3 separate regions of the Homo sapiens genome follow, and all the other regions are linked to region 1. Evidence: promoter capture Hi-C in 16 types of primary human blood cells and fetal thymus (Javierre and others, 2016). All regions are on one chromosome and are shown on one strand. The core of a region is centred on a gene start or on the middle of the fragment in contact, and the rest is flanking DNA. Distances in the headings are between cores, read along the strand shown. Region 1 holds the start of CCSER2 (coiled-coil serine rich protein 2). Region 2 holds the start of BMPR1A (bone morphogenetic protein receptor type 1A). Region 3 has its middle 15 kb from the start of GRID1.

What was found. The method cuts DNA at HindIII sites, captures the fragments that hold promoters and counts their contacts. A CHiCAGO score of 5 or more calls a contact.
Region 2: the fragment with the promoter of BMPR1A here is called in contact with the fragment with the promoter of CCSER2 in region 1 in 1 of 17 cell types (non-activated CD4 T cells); the score reaches 6.0 in non-activated CD4 T cells.
Region 3: a fragment that was not itself captured here is called in contact with the fragment with the promoter of CCSER2 in region 1 in 1 of 17 cell types (naive CD8 T cells); the score reaches 7.5 in naive CD8 T cells.

The regions. Positions count from the first base shown.
Region 1 is chr10:84,326,584-84,330,930 of GRCh38, forward strand. It overlaps CCSER2 (coiled-coil serine rich protein 2), which reads left to right and starts at 2,006. Exons shown (of 10, transcript NM_001284240.2): 1 at 2,006-2,225. RefSeq lists a silencer at 1,770-2,499 and enhancers at 2,550-2,899, 3,947-4,026. The HindIII fragment of the contact is 12,289 bases long and covers 1-2,811 here.
Region 2 is chr10:86,754,526-86,758,872 of GRCh38, forward strand. It overlaps BMPR1A (bone morphogenetic protein receptor type 1A), which reads left to right and starts at 2,094. Exons shown (of 13, transcript NM_004329.3): 1 at 2,094-2,394. RefSeq lists a silencer at 1,607-2,576. The HindIII fragment of the contact is 8,878 bases long and covers 1-4,077 here.
Region 3 is chr10:86,379,824-86,384,170 of GRCh38, forward strand. No RefSeq gene overlaps it. Among named protein-coding and RNA genes, the nearest start is that of GRID1, 15 kb to the left of the region's middle. The HindIII fragment of the contact is 6,332 bases long and covers 1-4,347 here.

The DNA of each region.
Region 1 (4,347 bases), core at 756-3,255:
GAAAATACACTAAAATGCTATTGTGATTCTGCTAAGTATGTACATGTATTAGCATTATGGGAAAGTTTTTTCCTAGCCTTCTTTTTTTTTTTTTTTTTTTTTGGAGACAGGGTCTTGCTCTGTCACTCAGGCTGGAGTGCAGTGACATGATCACAGCTCACTGTAGTCTCAACCTCCTGGGCTTAAGTAATCTTACTGCCTCAGCCTTCTGAATAGCTGGAACTACAGGCATATGCCACTAAGCCTGGTTAATTTCTTTTTTTTTTAATAGACTAGGTCTCTATGTTGCCCAGGCTGATCTTGAACTCCTAGGCTCAAGTGATCCTCCCGCCTCAGCCTCTCAAAGTGTTGAGGTTACAGTCGTGAGCCACCACAACTGGCCTGGGCATTTTATTTTATTTTATTTTATTTTTGAGATGGAGTCTCACTCTGCCGCCCAGGCTGGAGTGCAGTGGCATGATCTCATCTCACCGCAACCTCCACCTCCCAGGTTCAAGCAATTCTCCTGCGTCAGCCTCCTAAGTAGCTGGGATTACAGGAATGCGCCACCACGCCCGGCTAATTTGTTGGTATTTTTAGTAGAGACGGGATTTCACCATATTGGCCAGCCTGGTCTTGAACTCCTGACCTTGTGATCCTCCCACCTTGGCCTCCCAAAGTGCTGGGGTTACAGGCTTGAGCCATCGCCTCCGGCCTGGTGTTTGCTTTTCTAATCTCACTTAATCCAAAGAGAGATTGCACAGCATTTAGACCTAGTCTTTGTCAATATTTTAAGCACACATTATTGTCCAATACATTAAATATCTTAGGGATTGATATTTAAAAGACATTATTTTCTAAATATGAAAGTGTATTATTAAATGAAGTGTGGTTATACAAATCAGGCATTCCGTCTGCTTTTTCCATTTGAGTATCATTGATCTGGAGACAGGAAAGAACTGGATATTTTTCAAGCAGTTCTCCTGAAATGTTATTACAACCGAGCTGTTGGGGCCGACGAGGATTTCAGAGAACTGCAAGTCTACAACCAGGTAAGGGCAACTCCAGAGCTTTAAACAGCCGGCCAGGCCCGGAAGCCTTCCAGGCTGAGGACTCTCAGCAGCAGGACTGGCCGCGTCGAGGAAAAACAAGAGGGGAAGAGATGGCCTCTGGGGGATGGAAGCCCCAAAGGGAAGAAAGACCTGGTTTCTGGCAAAGAAACCACATTGGCCAGGAGCTGTGGCTCACGCCTGTAATCCCAACACTTTGGGAGGCCAAGGTGGGAGGATTGCTTGAGCCCAGGAGTTTGAGACTAGCCTGTAAGACCACTTCCCCCAACTCTAAAAAGAAAAAATAAAAATTAGCCGGGTATTTGGGTCAACTTGTGATAGTTTACTTTGACTAGTGTGGTCTTAGTTGTAATTATTTCGGAGGCTTGGTGATACACGCCTGAGGCGAGAGGATCGCTTAAGCCCAGGAGGCTGCAAGTGAGCTGTGATAGCGCCACCGAACTCCAACCTGGGTGACAGGGCGAGACTCTGTTTCAAAAAAAAAAAAAAAAAGGGAAAACCAGATCAGCACTTGGGGTGCCCCTTCCCCTCAGCTTTAGCAAGATCCTGTGTTTTGATGCGGTAGGCAGGTGCGTGGTTCAGTCATGCCCAATGCTCAGACCACTCCTCACTTTTCACATCCAGGAGGAGGAGCTGTCAGGTTTGACCGCACTCAAGCAGCAAATGTAGTCCAGGGGACGGCTAGAGGTGAGGTCAGCCGCAAGACTGGCGTCACTGCGTGGGCCCAGCAAAAACCTGAGTCAGGAGGCGGCCAGGCAAGGTCAGTGGAGGGGGCGGGGCCCGAAGCGGAGGCGGAGCTTGGGAAAGCCTGGCGTGAGGGCGGGGCGGGGCCAGAGGTGGGCTGAGGCCGGATCAGGCGGTGGGGGCGGTCCCCGTAGCCCCGTGAGGCTCGCGCCTGCGCACGGGCCCGCGGCGGGGCGGGACTGCGCGTGCGCGGTGCGCCGGCCCTGGAGGGCGGAGTCCGGGCGGGCGCCGGCCGAGGGAGGGGGCGCGGCGGCTTTGGAGTCCGGCGCTCCCTCAGGCCGCGGACGCGATGCTGGTTGCTGCGGCTCGGGCGGCGGGGCTGGCGGGGATGTGACGGGCGGCCCTTCGTCTCACCTTCCGTCCTCGGGCCCGCAGGTCGCAGGGCGGCCTGCAGCTGGGCCGCGGCCGAGGAGGCAGCGCGACCTCCGCACGGTGAGATCCGGGCTCAGGGCCAGAGCCGGGGCCGGGGTCGCGGCGGGCGCCGGGGGCAGCCCAAGACCAGGCACGCAGTCCGGGGCGGGGCGGAGGCCCGAACTCCCGGGCTGAGGCGGTGTCGCCCTCCCGTACCCGGCCTCCAGGGTGAGCCTCTCTAGCCCCTCGCGAGCCGCCGGACGCGGGGCGGGCGCGGACCCGGGAGGCCGGAGGGCGCCCTCCCTGCGGCTGTGACAGCGCGGGGCCTCGGGCCGCGGGCGCCGCCGCCTTTCAGGAGAAATCAGGGCGAGGCTGAGGCACTCTGATTTCGGAGCCTGGTTGCGTGTGAGGGTGGATAGGGAAAGTACCGGGGCTCCCCGAATGAGTTCGATTTTTTTTTTCTTTCAATTACTGGGCTAAATGAAAGACACACCCTAAAACACATCCTGAGGTGAAACTTTGGTGGGGCACACCGTTGCCGTAGGTTCAGATCTTCTCTCTTGTCTTTAGACATGTATTTTCATACATTTTTAAATAATGCACCTACTTTCTTGATAAAGTAAAAGGAGGAATGAAGGGACTCCTTTGTGGTGGTCCTTGGTGGCGAAGCTTGTTTCCATTTCAGTAATTGCATATTCATCTGTGTGGGCTCCCCGACCAATGAGGCTGGCTGCTCCCAGACAAGGCCTTAGCGGAGTGGAAATGACTGACGCAGGGACTCTGGTCTCAGATTAGAGTGTTGGTAGCTCACTCCTGTAAGAGAGAAATTGAGCTTTAAGCTTTTTAAAATAGCCATATGAAAAGCATTCCTTTTCTCCTGAGCATTAAAATATGACGGAACCTATTCATTTGGCCAGTTGTTTTTTTTAAAGCATCATCTTTTAGACTAGAGACTTTAGAGATGGCAGCTGCTCTTTAACCAAAAGGAACTTAAGATGCTCTCCTGCAAAAGATGGGTTCAAAACATGTCTTATCCGTCATCCATATGTGATAAAAATGTAAATATTCCTGAGTGTTTGCCTGAAATCAGTCTTCTTCCTCTTGGACTTTATTACTGTTTCTCTTAATTTATGAAAGCTTGTTACTGTTATTTTTTGTTTTCGTTTGTGTTCTAAACAACATTGGCTTCAAATAATCTTCAGGTTAAAAATGCACACTTTGTTGAACCCTTTAGCCATAATTCATACTGTCGTACTTCAGCATAAGCCATAGTTAAGAAAGCACTAGAAGCCATCCTGAAAGCAAGCCGAAAGTCTCTATTAAGAATTCTGTAAAAATTCTACCTTTCCACATTCAGACCTGCATTTTTTGTTGCTTTGACTCAACTCCTTTGACTATTTTGGAGGAAGGGACTTTGAATCCATATTTACAAGTCCTTCAGTGACTCTCCATAGTCTATATCGATAAAATTCAAAGTCCTTCATGATTAGCGGTATTTGTCTCCATTCTAGTGTCATCTTCTACCATTATGCCTGCCCTCTCTATATAAGACTGTTGCAGTTCTCTGAAGATGACATCTTCCTCTGTGGTTTTTCAGTGTTCTTTGTTGAGAATTCTCTACCTAGTAAACAACTTGCCCTTGAAGACCTTACGAAAGTAGCACTTCTGAGGCTTGTCTAGACATTTCATCCCTCTTGTCTTAACTGATTCGTACACTCTCCAGTTAGTATTTGTCAACTGGTAGTTAATGATTTGTTTATGTGTCTGTCTCCACCAGGTTTTGGGGTTTCTTTTGTGTTTTTTGAGACAGAGTCTTGCACTGTGGCCTGGGCTGGAGTGCAATGGCCTCATCTCGGCTCACTGCAACTTCTGCTTCCTGGGTTCATGCGATTCTCTTGCCTCAGCCTCCTGAGTAGCTGGAATTATAGGCACACACCACCACACCTGGCTAATTTTTTTTTAGTAGAGACGGGTTTCAGTATGTTGGCCAGACTGGTCTCAAACTCCTGACCTCGTGATCCGCCCACCTCGGCCTCCCAAAGTGCTGGGATTGTAGGCTGGTTAGGAATGAAACCCCAGTTATGTTAAAAAAAATCCATTTTATGATACAGGAATAAAAAGGGCATGACCAATAAAGATTGCTGCTTCATTGGTCCTACAACTTTATTTTGAGGCGCAAAGTCACGCAGGTAGAAAGGGATGG
Region 2 (4,347 bases), core at 844-3,343, 2.4 Mb after region 1:
AATTCATATGTCTAAAAATCCAACTAGACTATAAAGAGCATAATAACACGCTTGCCATGGTTTTCTCTGCCGACACATTGCTCAGCATACGTCAATGAGAGCTTTGACCAATCAATGTGAATCTCCTTAAGCAAAAGGCCCATCTTTTCCTTTAGAACTAAAGCTGGGGCTGGGCGCAGTGGCTCACGCTTGTAATCCCAGCACTTTGGGAGGCCGAGGCGGGAGGATCACGAGGTCAGGAGATCGAGAACACCTATTAACACGGTGACACCCCGTCTGTACTAAAAATACAAAAAGTTAGCCGGGCGTGGTGGCGGGCGCCTGTAGTCCCAGCTGCTCAGGAGGCTGAGGCAGGAGAATGGCGTGAACCCAGGAGGCGGAGCTTGCAGTGAGCCGAGATGGCGCCACTGCACTTCAGCCTGGGCGACAGAGCGAGACTCCGTCTCAAAAAAAAAAGAACAAAAAAACCCCAAAAAACAAAAAAACTAAAACTGGGTATTATGAAGGAAACTTGAGAAAGAAAAGTGACCAATTTTAGTTGATGCAAGTAATCTCACGTATCCTCTTCTTCCTGCATAGCAAGATACTACAACCCATGACTGTCAAACCTGAGACAGCTGAAGAGCCCAGAAAAAAAGATTAGGGAAGAAAACAGAATTGAAAAATAATTCAGAATGACAGAGGCTATCTGCAGCATTAAGGGCAAAGGCGGGTAAAAGAAGAAAAGGGAGACAGAATAAAAGATAAACCAAAAAATTGAAACAAAATACACGGGAATTCAAACATTTATACCAGAATATAAGGGAATACCCTGGAATCTAAACACCTCTTCAGGCAAGAATGTGTGTCAATACAAATGCCTGGCACATTGTTTTCCTTCCCCCTTTCTTTTTACCCAGTTTACCCAGTTTTAAAAGTGATTTTTTAAAATGCACCTTTAAAAGAACATCTTTTGTTAAGTGACTTAAACTTGATACATTTCTTGGATTACTAAGGAGGTTAAAGTCACATTTGGTGAAAAAGGGGCCTATCTCCTCTTTCCTCACATACGGGTCATCGAATACTTTTAAAAGCATTTTCCACCATGAATGAGGGGAAATGGAAGAAAAGAGGTGGTGACAATTATTTGCATTTTCCAAATGGACGGAATGAGCCTCCGGAGGGTACACGAGGTCACCAGCGTGAGCCCGCGGTGGAGCTGGAGGCGTATTTATAGCTGGCTGACCTCAGTCCTGTTGGGCCCTCGCCGCTCCTTATCTTATGCCGCTGGAATTCGCGGGCTCGCAGGTCACAGGAGCCCGGGCGCGCCGGGCCTGGCGCTCCCGAATCGATGAGGGAAGCCGCTCTCCCCGGCAGATCCTCCCGGCCGGGGAGCCTCCATCACCCTGCCTGCGCCTCGGCACGCTGGCAAGGAGCCCGGGAAGAGACGCCGGGAGCGGTGGGTGGGCGAGAAACAAATGCAATGTGACTTATATTTTTCTTTGTCGCAACTACCACGACCTGGCCATCCCCCACCTTGGTGACTTGGTGCCTTCCCAGCGACCTTATTTCACGCCAGCTGACTGGCGTTCACCGCAGTGTGAGTGTCGGCCGGAGGAGGGGTCCACGCGAAAGAGCCCGCGAGAGTGGGGATATCCGGCCCCGAAGGCCGGAGCGGGCGTCCAGGGCGCCGATGGCCGCAGCGCCCGGCAGCCGTGTCCACGCTCCCCTCCGCCGCGTTCCATCGCGTGCTACCTACGGCGTCTGCGGGAAGCTACCCGGGCGGCAGCTGTGGGGCTGGCTTGTGGGGAGGGGCCGGCGGGCCCGCGCGGAGGAGCAGCCCCGACTCCCGCCCGCACCAGCAGCTCGGCGCCCCCTTGCCGGCGGCTGGCCCTCCTCCCCGGCAACTGGGCGCCGGGCTCCGCGAACTCTTCGGGCGCTTCCGCCGTGCGCTCGGCTCTTTTCGTGTCCGGGGCGGGGCGGGGCAGGCGCCCGTGGTCGGGTGCGCGCGGCGCGGGCGGGGGCCTTCCCAGTGCGCGCGCGCCGTGCAAGGCCCGCGGACGCCCGCCCCTCCCCCAGGCCCCCGCACCCGCGCCGCCCCCTCCCCTCCTGGCAAGAGTCGGCGGCGGTGGCGGCGGCCGCTGCAGAGATTGGAATCCGCCTGCCGGGCTTGGCGAAGGAGAAGGGAGGAGGCAGGAGCGAGGAGGGAGGAGGGCCAAGGGCGGGCAGGAAGGCTTAGGCTCGGCGCGTCCGTCCGCGCGCGGCGAAGATCGCACGGCCCGATCGAGGGGCGACCGGGTCGGGGCCGCTGCACGCCAAGGGCGAAGGCCGATTCGGGCCCCACTTCGCCCCGGCGGCTCGCCGCGCCCACCCGCTCCGCGCCGAGGGCTGGAGGATGCGTTCCCTGGGGTCCGGGTGAGTTGGGAGTGCGCGTGCGGACCGGAGGGGCTGGCCGCAGCGGGGAGGCCAGAGGGGCTCGGGCGAGGCTGCAGAGGCAGCTGGGCGCGCGGTGGCCGGAGCCAGGGGCTGCCCGGCCCGGCCCCGGCAGCTCCGCAGGCCTCGGCGCGCGCTGGGCCGGGACCGCCCAGCCAGAGACCCACGGCACCCCGCGCCGCGTCCCCCGCCGGCCCCTCTTTTGTCTCCCACTCGCGGGTTGCAGGCCGAGTTTGGGGATGCGGAGTGGGCGAAAGTCGCTCCGGGGACGCTTCTGGAATCCTTAAATGGGAAAGGCGCTCACCTCCCCGCCCCGGAGCGGCGAGGCTGATATTTGTGATTTGGCTCCGGACGCTGTGGGGAGGAACAGGGGAGAACAAAATGAGTTTCGGGCGGGGGTCGAGTGAGAGGAGCAGCCGGCCCGCCCCCGAGTCCCCGCGGGAAGGGGCCCTGGCCCCCGAGCTCCCGGAGCTGCTTCACCTGTTGTCCTGCGCGGCCTCCGCTCCGTGGCCTGGTGATTCCGTACTTCAGTTTTGGAAAACTTTCTGCTGGATTGCCTGGACCCTTTTTTCTCTTTCCAGACTCCTAGTGGAAAGATTTGGCAAGGAAAAAAAAATGAGCTTGCGTCAGGGAAGAAAAATAATATGCTGTGTGTTAGGGTCTGGCGTTTGAGCGTGGTACTCTTTCATGCTCTCAGATGTTTTAATTTGGTCAAACTCCTGCAGGTTTTCTCTTTTAAGCGGTTAACAAACTGTTCAGAGTACATAGTATGAACTTGGCACCTGTGTTACGTCATTTAATCCTTACAACGATTCTGGTTTATTGTATTCCTCATTGTTTTAGGGGAAGAAACCGAGTCGCAAAGAGGTTAACTAACTTGTCTAAGGGAGCTGGGATTTGAACCCAGGAACATCGTATTCTGGCAAACGAATTAGGAAGAAAAAAAACCAAAACTGTTTGCAAACACTTTTACGTTTAGGAACATTTTTCAGTTACTCTTACTTGAAATTATCGCTATTTTGTTGCTGGAGTTGAAAACAACTACTTTATTGTATTTACTTGTGAGAGGAGTTAAACTTTGAATTAGAGTGTAACTTAATGCGTCTCATTGTTTTCAGTTGTTGAAATAAAGAATGTGAACCAGAATTATTTAGATTTTTAAATTTGAAGCTAAAATATGGGCAATTCTCTGATCTAGGAATGGGGTGAGTGTATGAAAGGCCGATTGAAATGTAGAATGCGTTTTTAGTAGAACCAGACTCAGTTCTTGTTTAATTTTTCCTCCATTTTCCGTGGAGCCCACTTTAAACTTTTTCTACTTTCTTCACTTCTCCCCACCCTTTACAGAAGAGGTTGAGGCACTTAGCAGGAGCTCCTTCATTAAATTCCTTCTGTTACTGGCTTCTTAACCTTCCGTCAAAGAGGGAGAATTTTTTTTTTTTTTTTTGTCTTTCTTATTAGTTAACACCTTGGGGTTTTTTTCCTTTCCTTCTAATTTTCCTGCTTAGTGGAGCGTGAGTTATTTTCTCTGTCGTATTTGGGTTCTTTAAAGTACAAATGTTCTTAAGATTTTTTCAGTTTACAAAAACCTTTTCTTAAGTCTGCTACTCCTTCAAGCTGTCTTGTTGCTGCTTTTCCTTTTCAAATCTTATTAACATTTTAAAAAGCTTGTTCGTAATAAAAGTAACACATGGTTGTTAATTGCGAACTAGCGCAACATTGAAATTAAAATTTAGTCATTCACAATCCATCTCTAGAGATTGCCAAGTGTAGTCTGCTTTTCCTGCCTTTGCCTGGTTGGTGGCTAGCCACTCATTTCTTAACCCCTTGTTATCTGGATTTCACCTTCACAAGGAACTATAACCTAATCAACACATTTAACTACCTTTTTCTAAGTCCTCTCCTTGAGTTTTCTGTAAGATTTAACATCGACTT
Region 3 (4,347 bases), core at 864-3,363, 2.1 Mb after region 1:
CAGGAGTTTGAGACCAACCTGGGCAACATGGCAAAACCCCATCTCAACAAAAAATACAAAAAAATTAGCCGAGCGTGGTTACACACACCTGTGGTCCCAGCTTCTCGGGAGGCTGAGACAGGAGGATGGCTTGAGCCTTGAAGGCAGAGATTGCAGTGAGCCAAGATCATACCACTGCACTCTAACCCGGGTAACAGAGTGAGACGTCATCTAAAAAGAAGAAAAGAAAAGACAAATACTGTATGATTCTCTCATAGGAGGTACCTAGAGTAGTCATATTCACAGAGACAGAAAGTAGAATGGTGGTTGCCAGGGTCTGAGGGAAGATGAGAATGGGGAGTTGTTTAATGGGGACAGAGTTTCAGTTTGGGAAGATGAAAAAGTTCAGGAGATGGATGGTGGTGAGGGTTGCACAACAATGTGAATGTACCTAATGCCACTGAACTGTATGCTTAAAAATGGTTAAGATGGTAAATGCTATATTATGTGTATTTTATCACAATTAAAAATAAAAATAATATAAAATCACACAAACCCTTTGCTAGGCCCTCTGTCTGCAGAACAATGGTCAAGTTCCACAGCACTTAGGCTGTAGTGAATTTCTGCAGGACCGGCCCCAGGCAATGCCCCCTGCCCTGAGAGCTGCGCCATCAAAACAACACGGGGCTGTAGCAGGAATGACCGAGGTCGTAGAAGACCCAGGCCCTGACTATGTCTGATTGGTCTGAAGATGGCCACCTACTCCAAACTAGCCAATCAGCACCCTCCTCCAGAATGCTTTAACTAGAATAAAGAGAATCCGGCCCTATAGGTGATGGGTATGTAAGATGTGAAGTCAGGCTAGGTGGGCAGACATGATCCCTGATGGGTGGAAGGAACCAGAGAAGCACAGGCAAGAGGTGGTGGCTGTTCCCCTGCCCTCTCTGCCTTTGCAGTGTGAGTTTCTGCCATGTGTTATGGTCACTGGCAACAAAAAGATTACTGGCTAGAACAGAAGCCCTCCAAAGGGCTCCCAACCCCAAAGTGTAAAACAATTCGGTAACACTAATGAGCCACGCTGTTTCCCACCTCTCAGCCCTTGCTGTTCCCTCTCCTAGGAATGCCTTCTTTCGTGGATGGCCCCCTAGAAATGTATGTGGCTTTTAAGATGAAGTTGAAACTCCATGAACCAGGAAGTCTTTATTACCTACACCCCCAACCCCATGTGGAAGTGACCCATCCTTGGGCCACCTGTGGCTGCAGCACCCACCATCATATATGTCTGTTCTCACACCTGCCTCCCCTTCTAGCTGGAAGAGTCGCAAAAGCTGAGACTCATCTTGTGTTCCCATTACCCAGGAAAGGGTCTAGCACCTAGTGGGTTCTCAATCAATGCTTACTGAATGAAGACGGAGATGCAAAGTAAATATCATCAACCCTCTTTTACAGAGCACACAACTGAGGCTTAATGATGTGGCATCCCAGATCAATCCCCTACAAGCTGTAGGCATCTCCTTGTCTGATCCTACCTCCCAGCCCTCCCCAACTGCTGAAATCCACCCACGTGACTTTAGAACTCCTGGTCAATAGGAAATTCACACCTGGATCCATCATAGTGAAACAGCAGAAAACCAAAGATACAGAGAAAAATTGTAAAAGCAGCTAGAGAAGAAAAAACAGATTTCTTAAACTGACAGCTGACTTCTCAACAACAGTACACACATAACAAGGCGGAAGATAGTGGAGTGGTAGCTTCAATGAGCTGAAAGAATGTTTCTACCCTAGAACTCCACACTAAGGAAAAAAATGTCTTTCAAGAATTAGGATGAAATAAAGATTTTTCAGGCAAACAAAAACTCTGAGAGTTCAATTAGAAGCAGACGTTCACTAAAGGAAATGCTCAAGGAGCTATTTCAGGCAGAAGGAAAGTGATCCCAGATGGAAGGACCTATGCACAGGAAAGAGTGAAAAGCAATGAGCATTTAAATGCATGGGTGAATATAAATGAACACTGTCTAGAACAGTGATGCCTATGGCATACAAAAAAATAAGAACTAAAATATAAGACAATACAGGGATTGTCTGGGGAATATGGCAAAAGTATTCATTAACTGTAAACTTTGGTAAATTAAGTATGCAGATTTTAATTTTGAAGGAAAACACATACACAAAAAAGGAGACAATAACTTTGGATGGAAAAGTGTATGATAAAGTACAGTGAAGTCCAAGAAAATACAGTTGAGCCCAAGAAAGCAAGAAAGAGAAACAGAACAGAAAGCCCAAAATAAAGTGATATTTTAAAAACAAAAATACATTAATAAGTATATTAAATGTAAGAGAATTGAATGCTTTAGTCAAATTGCAAATGTTAGTAAATTGGATTTTTTGTGAAAATCTAGATGTGACAAAAGTCACATTTAGGATATAAAAATAAAGAAATATTGAGAGTAAAAGGAATAAGGATAATGTGCCATGTGAGCATTAACCAAAAAAGAGCTACTGTGGCTATAGCAATATCAGACAAAGTAGACTTTAAGGCAAAAAAGTATTATTAGAGATAAAGAGGATTATTATGTGATGATAAAATATTTCATTTACAAGGGAGACATAAAAATGTTATACTTGTATGCATTTAACAACATAGTCACAAAATATATAAAGTCCAAAATTATATATCTACAAAAAGAAAGACAAATCCAACATCACAGTGAGAGAATTTAGCACAAGTCTCTCAGTATAGACAAGAAAAGCAGTAAAAAGCCGTCACAATTCAGGGAAGAAATAAACCATCTGTAAAATATTATTAACATATTTGATCTAGTGGACACATATAGAATGCTGCACTCAACAAGAGCAGACTACAGTTTCTTTTCAAGCATACATGAACATTTACAAAAAGATAATGTTTAGGCCGGGTGCGGTGGCTCATGCTTTTAATCCCAGCACTTTAGGAGGCCGAGACGGGCGGATTACCTGAGGTCAGGAGTTCAAGACTAGCCTGGCCAATATGGCAAAACCCCATCTCTACTAAAAATACAAAAATTAACCCACCATGATGGTGCATGCCTGTAATCTCAGCTACTTAGGAGGCTGAAGCAAGAAAATCACTTGAATCCAGGAGGCGGAGGTTGCAGTGAGCCAAGATCACACCACTGCACTCCAGCCTGGGCAAAACAGCAAGACTCTATCTCAAAAAAAAAAAAAAGATAATGTTTGATTGAAATAGTATTAAACATGATTTCTTTTTTTTTTCTTTTTTTTTTTTTTTTTTTTTTGGTGAGATGGAGATTTACTTTTGTTGCCCAGGGTGGAGTGTAATGGCACGATCTCAGCTCACCGCATTCTCCGCCTCCAAGGTTCAAGCAATTCTCCTGCCTCAGCCTCCGGAGTAGCTGGGATTACAGGCATGTGTCACCACGCCCGGCTAATTCTGTATTTTTAGTAGAGACAGGGTTTCACCGTGTTGCCTAGGCTGATCTCAAACTCCTGACCTCAGGTGATCCACCCGCCTTGGCCTCCCAAAGTGCTGGGATTACAGGCGTGTGGTGAGCCACTGCACCCGGCCATTAAACATGATTTCTGACAACAATGTAATTAACTTGGTAATTAATATTAAAAATAAAACTAAGAAATACATTCCTAAACAACTCAGTATACAAAAAGAACATGATAAATGAAAATTAGAAAATATTTACAACAGGCCTGTAATCCCAGCACTTTGGGAGGCCGAGGCGGGCAGATCACGAGGTCAGGAGATCGAGACCATCCTGGCTAACACAGTGAAACCCCGTCTCTACTAAAAATACAAAAAAATTAGCCGGGCGAGGTGGCAGGTGCCTGTAGTCCCAGCTACTCGGGAGGCTGAGGCAGGAGAATGGCATGAACCCCAGGAGGCGGAGCTTGCAGTGAGCCGAGATCGCGCCACTGCACTCCAGCCTGGGTGGCAGAGCGAGACTCCGTCTCATAAAAAAAAAAAGAAAGAAAGAAAAAGAAAAAAGAAAATATTTACAACAGAAGAATAACAAAAATGTCACATATCAAAACTCATGCTTCTCTCTAAGTAGCCTTTTATGTATTTGGAAGATTTATAGTCTTGAAGGAAGGCAGAAAATTAATGAAAAAGTGTCCATTTCCGACATTAGAAAAAGAAACGTAAAATAACCCAAAAAGGTAGAATAAAAAAGTCGAGAGTATAAATTAATAAAATATGAAAGATAATACATGCAATAGAGAAATCAAAATAAAATTTAAAAGTCAAAAGTCATTTCTTTGAAACTATTAACAAAGTTAAAAAATCCTGGCAAGACTGATCAAAATGGAAGAGAGAAAAAGAGAAAGAGAGAGAATGAAAATAACTAAGCAAGAGTA